2 separate regions of the Homo sapiens genome follow, and region 1 is linked to region 2. Evidence: promoter capture Hi-C in 16 types of primary human blood cells and fetal thymus (Javierre and others, 2016). All regions are on one chromosome and are shown on one strand. Each heading gives the region's core, a stretch centred on a gene start or on the middle of the fragment in contact. The rest is flanking DNA. Distances are from core to core; before and after follow the strand shown.

Region 1 (4,701 bases), core at 1,570-4,069, 450 kb after region 2:
ATAAGACAAGATGAACAAAAACCAATAGGGATCTTAAAAAAAAAAAAAAAGAGGAAGGAGATATAACAGAGCCCTCAAATTTGTAATTATTAGATACAGACTTTAAGGAATCAAAGGCAAAACAGCACTACAAACCCAACATTCAATGGATAAAAATAGAATATTACAAACAACTTTATGCCTATATATTCAACAACTTAGTTGAAACCAGGATGTAAACTACTAAAGCTAACTCAAAAAGAAAATGATAAACTGAATAGCCTTGTATATATTAAAGAAATGGAACATGTAGATAAAAACCTTCCAACAAGTAAAACACAGGGACTGTTCGTTCCCTAGTAAATTCTATCAAACATTCTGGTTGTTGTTATTGTTGTTGTTGCTGTTGTTAAGACAGGCTTTTACTGCGTTGTCCAGGCTGGAGTGCAGTGACATGAACACAGCTCATTGCAGCCTTGACCTCCTGGTCTCAACTGATCCTCCAAACTCAGCTTCCCAAATAGTTGGGACCACAGGGGCATGCACGCACGCCTGGCTAATTTTTTTAAATTTTTTACAGAGACAGGGTGTTACTATGTTGCCCGGGCTGCTCTCAAACTCTTAGCCTCAAGCAATCTTCCCACCCTGGCTTCCCAAAATGTTGGGATTACAGGCATGAGCCACCACAACCACTCTGTATTAAACATTTAAGGAAGAAATACATATCAATGCCACACAGCAACTTCAGAAAATGGAGGAGAACAGGATATATCCAAACTCATTTTACAAGGCCAATACTACCCTAATACTAAAGACTAGAGTCAACCTAGCAAACAAAAAGGCAAATGAGCACAGTGCTTTACAATGACCTATCTAAATTTAAGTAGGGAAATGCCTGAACACCCAGGAGATGATGGATGCTGCCCAGCCACCTCCATACTTTGAGTAAGATGTACCTCCAAAGAAAGACAATTATATATGTTTGGAGAAAGTGTTTTGATACAAACAACCCAACTTGTTTCTGCTGTCTTCCTATTACTGCCAACTTATTCATTACCCTGATCATAACAAGAAGCTAAATGACCACTATAATGTATTTTCTATGAGAAAAAAGATTTCCATTTGTTTGGTTGACTAATGTACCTAAATATTTGCAACAAAACCTGGCATTTAGAAACAGTAACAAATGGTTAAAATAAATGGATTTCTACACAAAAATTTAAAACCAAAGTTTTCCAGCTCTCTAGCTCATTTTCAAAAGGATGATTCAAATAGTATATAATTAAAGAAAAAAAGATACCAAAGAAAATCTATGCACAATATAGTCTTTAGAAAATACACATCTAGAAATTAACATTCCCATTCAAAGACAATTAATAAGCATGGTGACGCCGGACGCAGTGGCTCATGCCTGTAATCCCAGCACTTTGGGAGGCAGAGGTGGGCAGATCACTTGAGGTCAGGAGTTCAAGACCAACCTGACCAACATGGTGAAACCTCATCTCTACTAAAAATACACAAAAATTAGCCAGGCGTGGTGGCAAATGCTTGTAATCCCAGCAACTTGGGAGGCTGAGGCAGGAGAATCACTTGAACTCAGGAGGCAGAGATTGCAGTGAGCCGAGATGGTGCCACTACACTCCAGCCTGGGCAACAGAGCAAGATTCTGTCTCAAATATATATATATAGATATATAGATATATATATCTATATATATATATGACAATTAATAAGCATGGAGAAGAAAATGAACAAAAAGGAAAGATATGTAAAGATAGGCTAATAATATAATTTTAAAAATAAAAATAATTGTATTAAAATAAAAAATTTTGAAAAAATAATTTTGTGTAGTAAAAGAAAAAACAAAAACTTTTCTATAATATCAAGAAGTTAAGAAAATATGAATACTACAGAAAAAGTTATCAAAGAAGAGACACAACATGCTTTTATAAAGTAATATGTCAGAAGAATATTCTTTTAAAGAGTGATGAGAGTTAATGGAAGAAACAGAAAAAACTTAAAAGCAATACAGAACTGAAAACCCATTAGAAGCCAGAAGCAATACCAAATTAGGGTCATAAAGGAGAGAAGTGACACAAATTTTTTTAAAAGACATAGATACACAATAAGAAGACAGACAAAAATATGAAAGAAATTAGAGAAATGATGATAAATATGGAAGACTGACAATGGAATGCCAACATACTGTAATTACTTTCAGATTAAGAGAAAAGAACAAGCAGAATATAAAAATGCTGAAGGCTAAAAAATGTTTCAAGTTCTCAATTTGCACAAATAAGACTACCATGTTCCAAAAGAAATAATCAATACCAAAATATAGCCTAGAAAGATTCCTGAACTTGAAGTCTAAAAATCTTATCACCAAGTCAAAAGAAGCATACCGCACCACAAGTGGTGGAAAAAAGAAAAGGAAGGCCTCTGGCTTCTCCTCAGTAATAATAGATGTCAAAAGACAAGAGGTCTGGTGAGACAGCCCAGGAAGAATGAGTTCTAAAAATAGTATAAAAAGCCAAGGTGGAACAGACTTCTGGTTTCAGCTCCAAAGTGTGAAAAGCTTAGAAGCTGTGACTCCCATATTCACAACAAGAAAAAAGATGAAAAACTAGAAAACTCTTCTCAGATCCATCAGAGAATTGAGGTCCCAAGACAAGATGCTTCCCAGAAAATTAGAGAGACAGGTGAATACAGAGAAATCACAACTATCATGAGCAGAATCCCCTGGTGCCTACCCAGTAACAGGTAGGAAAACTTAAATGATACATAATTACTGGAACAGTGTTAAAAGTTAAAACTCTTTAAGAGGCCCAGTCTTAGGGGGGCTCCTGAGTTTTACCTTTAGGAGCTTTCCAAGGTTCTCATGGAGAACATCCAAAAAAATCCCCTCCTGCTTCCAGCAGAGAAAGGAGAAACGTAACCATTTTGAAATATGCTCCCTCTAGTCTTCCTTTCTTACATAAAGGAAGAAAAACATAAAGGAAGAAAAAAGAAGAAAAAGAAAGGTCAAGAAACTCTGAAGGTCACAGTCCAGGAATGTTGGTTCAATATTTTTTAACAAAGAGAGAGAGATTTAATCATAAGGCTACAGAAAGCTTCCTACCTCCAACCCCAAAAACCTTACCACCACATTAATAACAGTGAATTACAACAGAAAGAGCTATAAAACACTGTTTAAAAAGGAGCTACTAGGGAAAGCTAAAGACAAGGGAGAGAAAAACAAGGACACAAGAGGAAATTGAAGGCTCTGACACCAAAAATTACAGTAAACATTAAATACAGACTAACTCCTACCTAGATAAACATAAATACTCATATTAAAATCCTATTTATCTCAGATCTTAATATCTAATGCATCATGTCTATCAGAGAGGGTGGAATGGGGAATAATTATTGTACAGCTATCTCTATTTACTCCTAAAACATTTCCATTATCCCAAAAAGAAACCCTATATCCAATACCCTTAAGGTTTCTTTCTGGGATAATGGAAATGTTTTAGGAGTAAATAGAGATAGATATACAAAACTGAATATACTAAATGCCACTAAATTGTTCACTTAAAAATGGTTAATTTTATATTATGTAAATCTTACCTCAATTTAAAATTTTTAATTCTTAAAAATAATACCAATAATGGATTAGGTTATTATAGTTTATGGATAAAGGAAATTAATGACAGCAATGTTATAAGGAACTAGAGGGAGGAACTGGGAATACTCTGTTACAATGTATCTGCCCTACTATGAAGCATTACACTGTTATTTGAAAGTGGACTTAGATTAATTATAAATGGATATTGCAAACCCAAGAACAACTGGTAAAAATTTTTAAAGAAAGTATAATTATATGCTGAGAGGGAAAATGGAATTCTATAAAATACTCAATTAAAAACCATAAAAGGCAGGAAAAAAAGATTTTTTTAAAGGAACAAAGGACAAGTATAATAAGAATATAAAAGTAATAAATATAGTAGCTATTAATCCAACTAAATCAATAATCACCTTAAATGTGAATTGTCCAAATATAGTAACTAAAAGAGATGGAAAGAGTGGATAAAAAGAAAGACTCAGCTATATGTTGCCTATAAGAAACCCACTTTAAGTATAAAACCACAGATAGATTAAAAATAAAGAGATGGGGAAACATATACCACACGAACAGTAACAAAAAGAAAGCTGGAGTCACTATATCATTTTCAGACAAAGCACATTTCAGAACAAATAAAATTATCAGGGATATAGAGAGGTATTACATAATGATAAAGGAGTCAATTCTCCAAGAAGACACAACAGTCCTTAGTGGGTATGCACCTAACAACAGAGCACCAATATGCATAAGGCAAAAACTGACAGAACTTCAAGAGAAAACAACAAAATTATTATTATTATTATAATGGGAGAATTCAACACACATCTATCAATAATTGAAAGATCCAGCAGGCAGAAAAGCAGTAATAGCTAAACTGAACAACTGGATCTACTTGACATTTGTAGAATACTTCATTCAATAACAGCAGAATACACACTTCTCTCAAGCTTACATGGAAAATTCACCAAGGCATAGCACACTGATGGCCATAAAACACACTCAAAAAATTTTAAAGAATAGAAATCAAAAGAAGTACCCACTCAGACCACAACAGAATGGAACAAGAAATCAATAACAGAAAATTCCAAAATATTTTGAGATTAAACAACATACTTCTA
Region 2 (4,953 bases), core at 1,195-3,694:
GCTGGGCCGCGGGAACGCTGTCCCCCTCCCAGGCTGGAAGGCGGGGATAATTCCCCCTGCCGTGCAGCCCTTCTAGACGGCGTCTACCCCTTTAAGAAAAATCTAGGCGGAGGTGGGGTGCGACAGAAGGGGTGGTGAGGCGAGGGTTTCCCTCCCTCCGTCTGCTATACCCGTCTCCCTCGCTCCGTCTCACTCTCCGTCTTTCCTCTCCTTCTTTTCCTCTGTTTTTCTTTTCTTTCAACACAAAAGTTGGGTTGTGAATTTTCCGAGGTCGCCGCCGCCTCGCCCCCACCCCCCGCCTCTGATCTGCCTAACTATAATTAAAGTGCGTTTTTTGTGGCATTAATAAAGAGTTATTTGTCCGCCGTTTCCACGGTCTTCACAAAGAGTACTTTCATAGGGGCGGCCGCTCGGGCCGCGAGTCCAATTTATACAAAAATGTTGTATTTTTAGCCCTGGGCTCTGTTTAGATGGCGCTCGGTGGAAACGGAGAGCCCTTGGAGGTCCCCCCGTAAAATCTGATAAATGACTCCGAAAAAATAACGCTGGGATTCAGAGGGCTCTCATTAACCCCTTAGGCGCTCCTGTACACGTACCCCCTATTTCCCTCCTCACCTCCAGATCTAGGGCCCCGGGTTGGAGGGATGGGGAGGCTTAGGTTTCCTCCTCCCTAACTTCTGTGCAGGTTGGACGCTGACCCCCAGGGGCTCTTGTGGGATTCGGAGAAAAGGTCATGGGGACCTGAGGGGGGGCAGAGAGGTCAGGAAACGAAGTGGGGGTGGGTGGTGACAGACCGTGGATTCAGCAGACTGGCTCTAAAAGGCGGGAGCCGTTGCCCAAGTTATTTTATTTCCTAAATTCGCGGCCCAAAGCCTAGAGCACCGCTGCAGTTGACACTTTAAGTGTGGTGGCGAGGGAAAGGCTCTGGGGATTTCTTTGCGGGGGGTGGGGGGGTGATACATCCATTGGTTGAAAGGACCCCCACCTCATTGCACGAACAACCCCAAAAAGAGATGGGCCTAATCCGGGACGTGGAAAGACCACAGGGCAGAGGAACTTCGAACCCCCTCCCCGCCCCCGCTCCGCTGTCACTCGTCCCGGGGCAGGGTGAGTGCGTGTGTGCGCGAGCGCGCGGATTGCACGCGTCTGTTAATTTCAAGCCAAGCTTTCGCACCTGTAAACCCACAGGTCGCAGCGCTCACCTTTCGCTTCACCTCTCTAGTGCGGGGATTGTCAGTTTCAGGACATCCCTGCTTCCCCTAACAGAACAAACGCGCGTACACACAAATACACCTCCCGCAGTTACTGCAGAGGCGCTCCGCTCCCCCACCCCAAGAAGAAAACCGGTGTGTATCACATTGCAAAAGCGATTGTCTGGCACTTGATGAGGTGAACTCCAGGTTAATCTCCCCATTACCTACCTGGGTCTGGTCCCTGACGCGCCTCACCCCCGTTATCACCAGCAGAGTGGGGTTGTGCGGCATCTAACAAGCACACACGCACTCTCTCTCTATGGATCCCACACTCACCTCTCCCAAGTTTCCCTCTCCTGCCAAACTGTCCCCACCCAATAAGTAAATAGACCCTTTTCCCCGAAAGCCTAGAGCCCTGGATTCTCATTTTTCCTTGGGTTACCTTCTTCCTCTTCCACCACAAAACAGACACACTCGCGCGGACCGCGGACCAGGGACACTGTACCTGGCGCTGCCGACGGCGCCGCAGGAACACAGTTTTAAATCGGCAATTCAAGCTGCCACCAGCCCCCTCCTCTCCCGACTCAATTTTCGGCTCCCAGCGACACAGCCAACCCCAGAAAGCCGAGGGCGACTGGGGGCTTGCAGCACCGAGGGGAGGCGAAAGCGGCTCAGGACCGGACCCTCCCCCGGGACCGCGCCTCGCTAGGCGCCCCCGGGGCGCTCCACGCCCCCTGCCAGGCCAGCCGCGACCCAGGCAAGTCCATCTTGGGAGCCCCCTCAGGTCCGGGAACCCCTCTTACCAGCCCCCTGAACCTGCGCCGCGGGCGCCAGTGGTCCCGGAACCGCGCTGCCGGCGGGCTGGGGAAGCCCGGGCTGCTGCGGCAGAGAGGAGGGAAGGGGCGGGGCGGGGACCAGTGCCTTCAGGCTCCCGGCGCCCCCTGGCCGGCCCGCCGCTCCGTCTGCCCCGCGCTCGCAGCTAGCGGACCCCGGAGTGCAGCGGAGCGAGCGCGCCCTTACCTGCAGCAGCCAGTGGCCGGTCTCTCCGATGAGCGGGAAGCCCATGGATCCCTTGGGGATGGGCAGCTTGCAGCTCTTGTCGCGAGTGGCGGCCCAGCGCAGCTGCCACAGCTGCTGCGACACGGCCAGCAGCAGCGTCACGGACACCAGGCACGCGGCGAGGGTGGCCAGCGCCGACACCAGATCCAAGCCCTCAAAGAGCATGTTGGCGGCCGCTCGGGGGATTGGCTGTGCCGGCCGCGGCGGGGGAGGGGAGGGCCCGACGGGAGGGGACCGGAGCGGCGGGGGAGGGGAGGCTGCGGCCGGGGGTCCTGGCACCTCCAGCCGAAACAGAGAAGGAGGAAGGGGCCAAGGGAAAGGGAGTGGAGGCTGCGAGGGGAGCGGAGAGAGGGAGGAAAAAAATTGCCTAAAAGAAGAGAGGAAACACGAGGCGACTGGGGTGCAACTTTGTTTGTTTGTTTGTTTGTTTGTTCCTTTATAGCGGGCTTAGGGGCTGCTCAAGGGGTGGTGAGATGAAGCCGTGAGTCAAGCTGGTGGGTTTGCTCTCCCCGCTACCATCACACTCGGAAAACTTTGGAAAACTTTGTCCAGAGGGAGCCTCTCTCTCGTAAGCCCCTTCCCCTGCTCGGAAAAAAAGAAGGGGGCAGAGAGCTAGCAGAGAGAAAGTGCGGTCGATTTGTCAAAAGTATTGCAGTATGGCCCCAAAATTCCTAGGTGAAAAAAAGAAAAAAAGAAAAAATTCCTGAATCCAAAAATTCCAACGAACCCAGAAACTTTGGGGGCGAGGGAGAAAGCTCCCTGGCTGAGGCGAGTGGAGAGGCCGGAGCCTAAAAGTCCCTGGGCTGCCCGGGGCGGCGCGCTCGAGCCCCAGAGCCGCCGCAGCACCCCCGAGGCAGGAGCGGCGGGCGAGGCGGCGAGGCGGGCGCTGCGGCCCGAGCGCGGGTGCGGAGCCGGCGGGCCGCGGCCGGGACGGGACGCAGCCGGCGACAGAGCCCCGGGCGGGCGATGGGGCGGCGGCGGCGGCGGCGGCGGCGGCGGCGGCGGCAGCGGGCGGGAGGGGTGAGGCGGGGTGGGGTTGGGGGAGGAGGTGGAAAACCCGAGCTGGGCTATTGTATCAATTAAGAAAAGGCAGTCCGTCCCGGGACGCGGTCTCTCGGCTCTGGAGTTGCTGCTGGGGGAAGAAATGGGGAAAAAAGAAAGGAAGGCAAAAGGAATGAAAGAGGGGGAAAAGCAGGAGGCAGGATTTCAGGGCTGGTGGTTTTAAAAGCTTCTCTCAATGTGAATTTGAGTCCAAAGCGAGGCGATGCGTGTGTTTATATAGAGGCGGGAGGCTGCGCCGTGGGCGCCCCGCCAGCACCCCCCCGCCCCAACCCGCGCGCTCACAAAGCCGGAGGCGTGGTGAGAGGCCGGGCCCGCGGCCGGAGCTGGAGAGCGCAGCCCGGCCTCCCGCCCCGCCCCGGCCGCCCGCCGCCCGCCGCCCGCAGCCCGCCCGGGACCCACTTGTAGCCGCCGCAGGATCAAACTCAGTTCACCTCTCGCCTCCTCTTCTTTCTCGCCGGCGTCTCGCTGAGCCCAGCGCCTACAGACGGACGAGATGAGACACACGCGCGCGCACCTACGCGCACACACACACAACACACACGCGCACACACACAACACACACACCTCCGCACACACGGTGCGCACTCGCTTAGTGCCTGCTTGGCTTCTAGGCTCCTTCCCTTCCTCTTTTCCTCCTTCCCAGGTCAGCGGTCCCCTCCTCCAGCTCCGAGCAGTCCCTCCTGGGCCGAAGCCCCGGCAGCGGAGGTCCTGGCCGGACTGCCCCCTCGACTGGCAGGCGCCCAAAGCCCTCGAAACTGTGCCTTAGGGTCCCGAGCTTCCAACCCCCGGGATCCCGCTGGCTCTTATCTCCAGGGACCCCTGAGTTACCAGTCCCAATCCCCCTAAGCCAGATCCCCCATTCCCGATCCCTATATCCTCACACCTCCGATGCTAAGGTCCGCCCCCGCCATATGTCTCTTACCCTACGGAACCTGGAGGTTCTCCTGTCCCCGTCAGCGTCCCAGGCTGCTGACTCTGCAGCCCCTCCTTTCCTGCACATTGGGACCCCCCTCCCCTGCTTTTGTAGTCCCCCTCCACCGCCCGCAGCGTCGGGGAACCCCGATACTGGTCCGGCAAGTGTCCTGCGCGGGGACAAACGCGGCGGCCCCGGTACCCAGAGGCGGGAGAAGACGGGCACAAACGTTCATTGATACAAATGAGTAAATAAACATGCTGGGTGAGCACGGCCACCTTCTCAGCGCTGGCAGCAGAGGGCCCGGCGCGCGTGCCTGTGTACGGTGTGCGTGTGGCCCGGGGCCGCACCTGTGTGTTCGCGCGCGTGGCCTTGCGTCGGCCCGACGTCTGAGGAGCGACGTGGTATGTCTGTGGGTTTGTGTATTCTTTGTAGAGCCATGAGTGTGTCTGCGCATCCGTGCATCTGTCATCTGGCCTCTCCTCCTGCGAGCCTGTGTTAACATGGAGCTGCGTACAGCAACCCCGACATTGGTCTAGCTAATGTCTGCCCCTCTCTCTCCCGTGCATCCTGCTTCCCTCAGCCCCCCTTGGCTCTGGCGTTCACTCTCACACTCCCGGAGCCAGAGTCGATATCCCATCTTTAGTTTAGAGTAGTGTGTGTGTCAACGATACTAGACTCCGCTTTTAACACCTTGCCTGCACCCAGTACGAGTTCTGCTTTAGA

Evidence for each region. Contacts are between HindIII fragments. The CHiCAGO score rates a contact against its expected background, and 5 or more counts as called.
Region 1: a fragment that was not itself captured here is called in contact with the fragment with the promoter of CYP26B1 in region 2 in 1 of 17 cell types (erythroblasts); the score reaches 8.5 in erythroblasts.

Annotation. Positions count from the first base shown.
Region 1 is chr2:72,593,609-72,598,309 of GRCh38, forward strand. The region is part of intron 6 of EXOC6B (exocyst complex component 6B); the gene reads right to left. Among named protein-coding and RNA genes, the nearest start is that of EXOC6B, 230 kb to the right of the region's middle. The HindIII fragment of the contact is 535 bases long and covers 2,553-3,087 here.
Region 2 is chr2:72,145,418-72,150,370 of GRCh38, forward strand. It overlaps CYP26B1 (cytochrome P450 family 26 subfamily B member 1), which reads right to left and starts at 2,445. Exons shown (of 6, transcript NM_019885.4): 1 at 2,214-2,445. The coding sequence starts at 2,417. RefSeq lists enhancers at 1,121-1,643, 1,833-2,334. The HindIII fragment of the contact is 2,315 bases long and covers 1,164-3,478 here.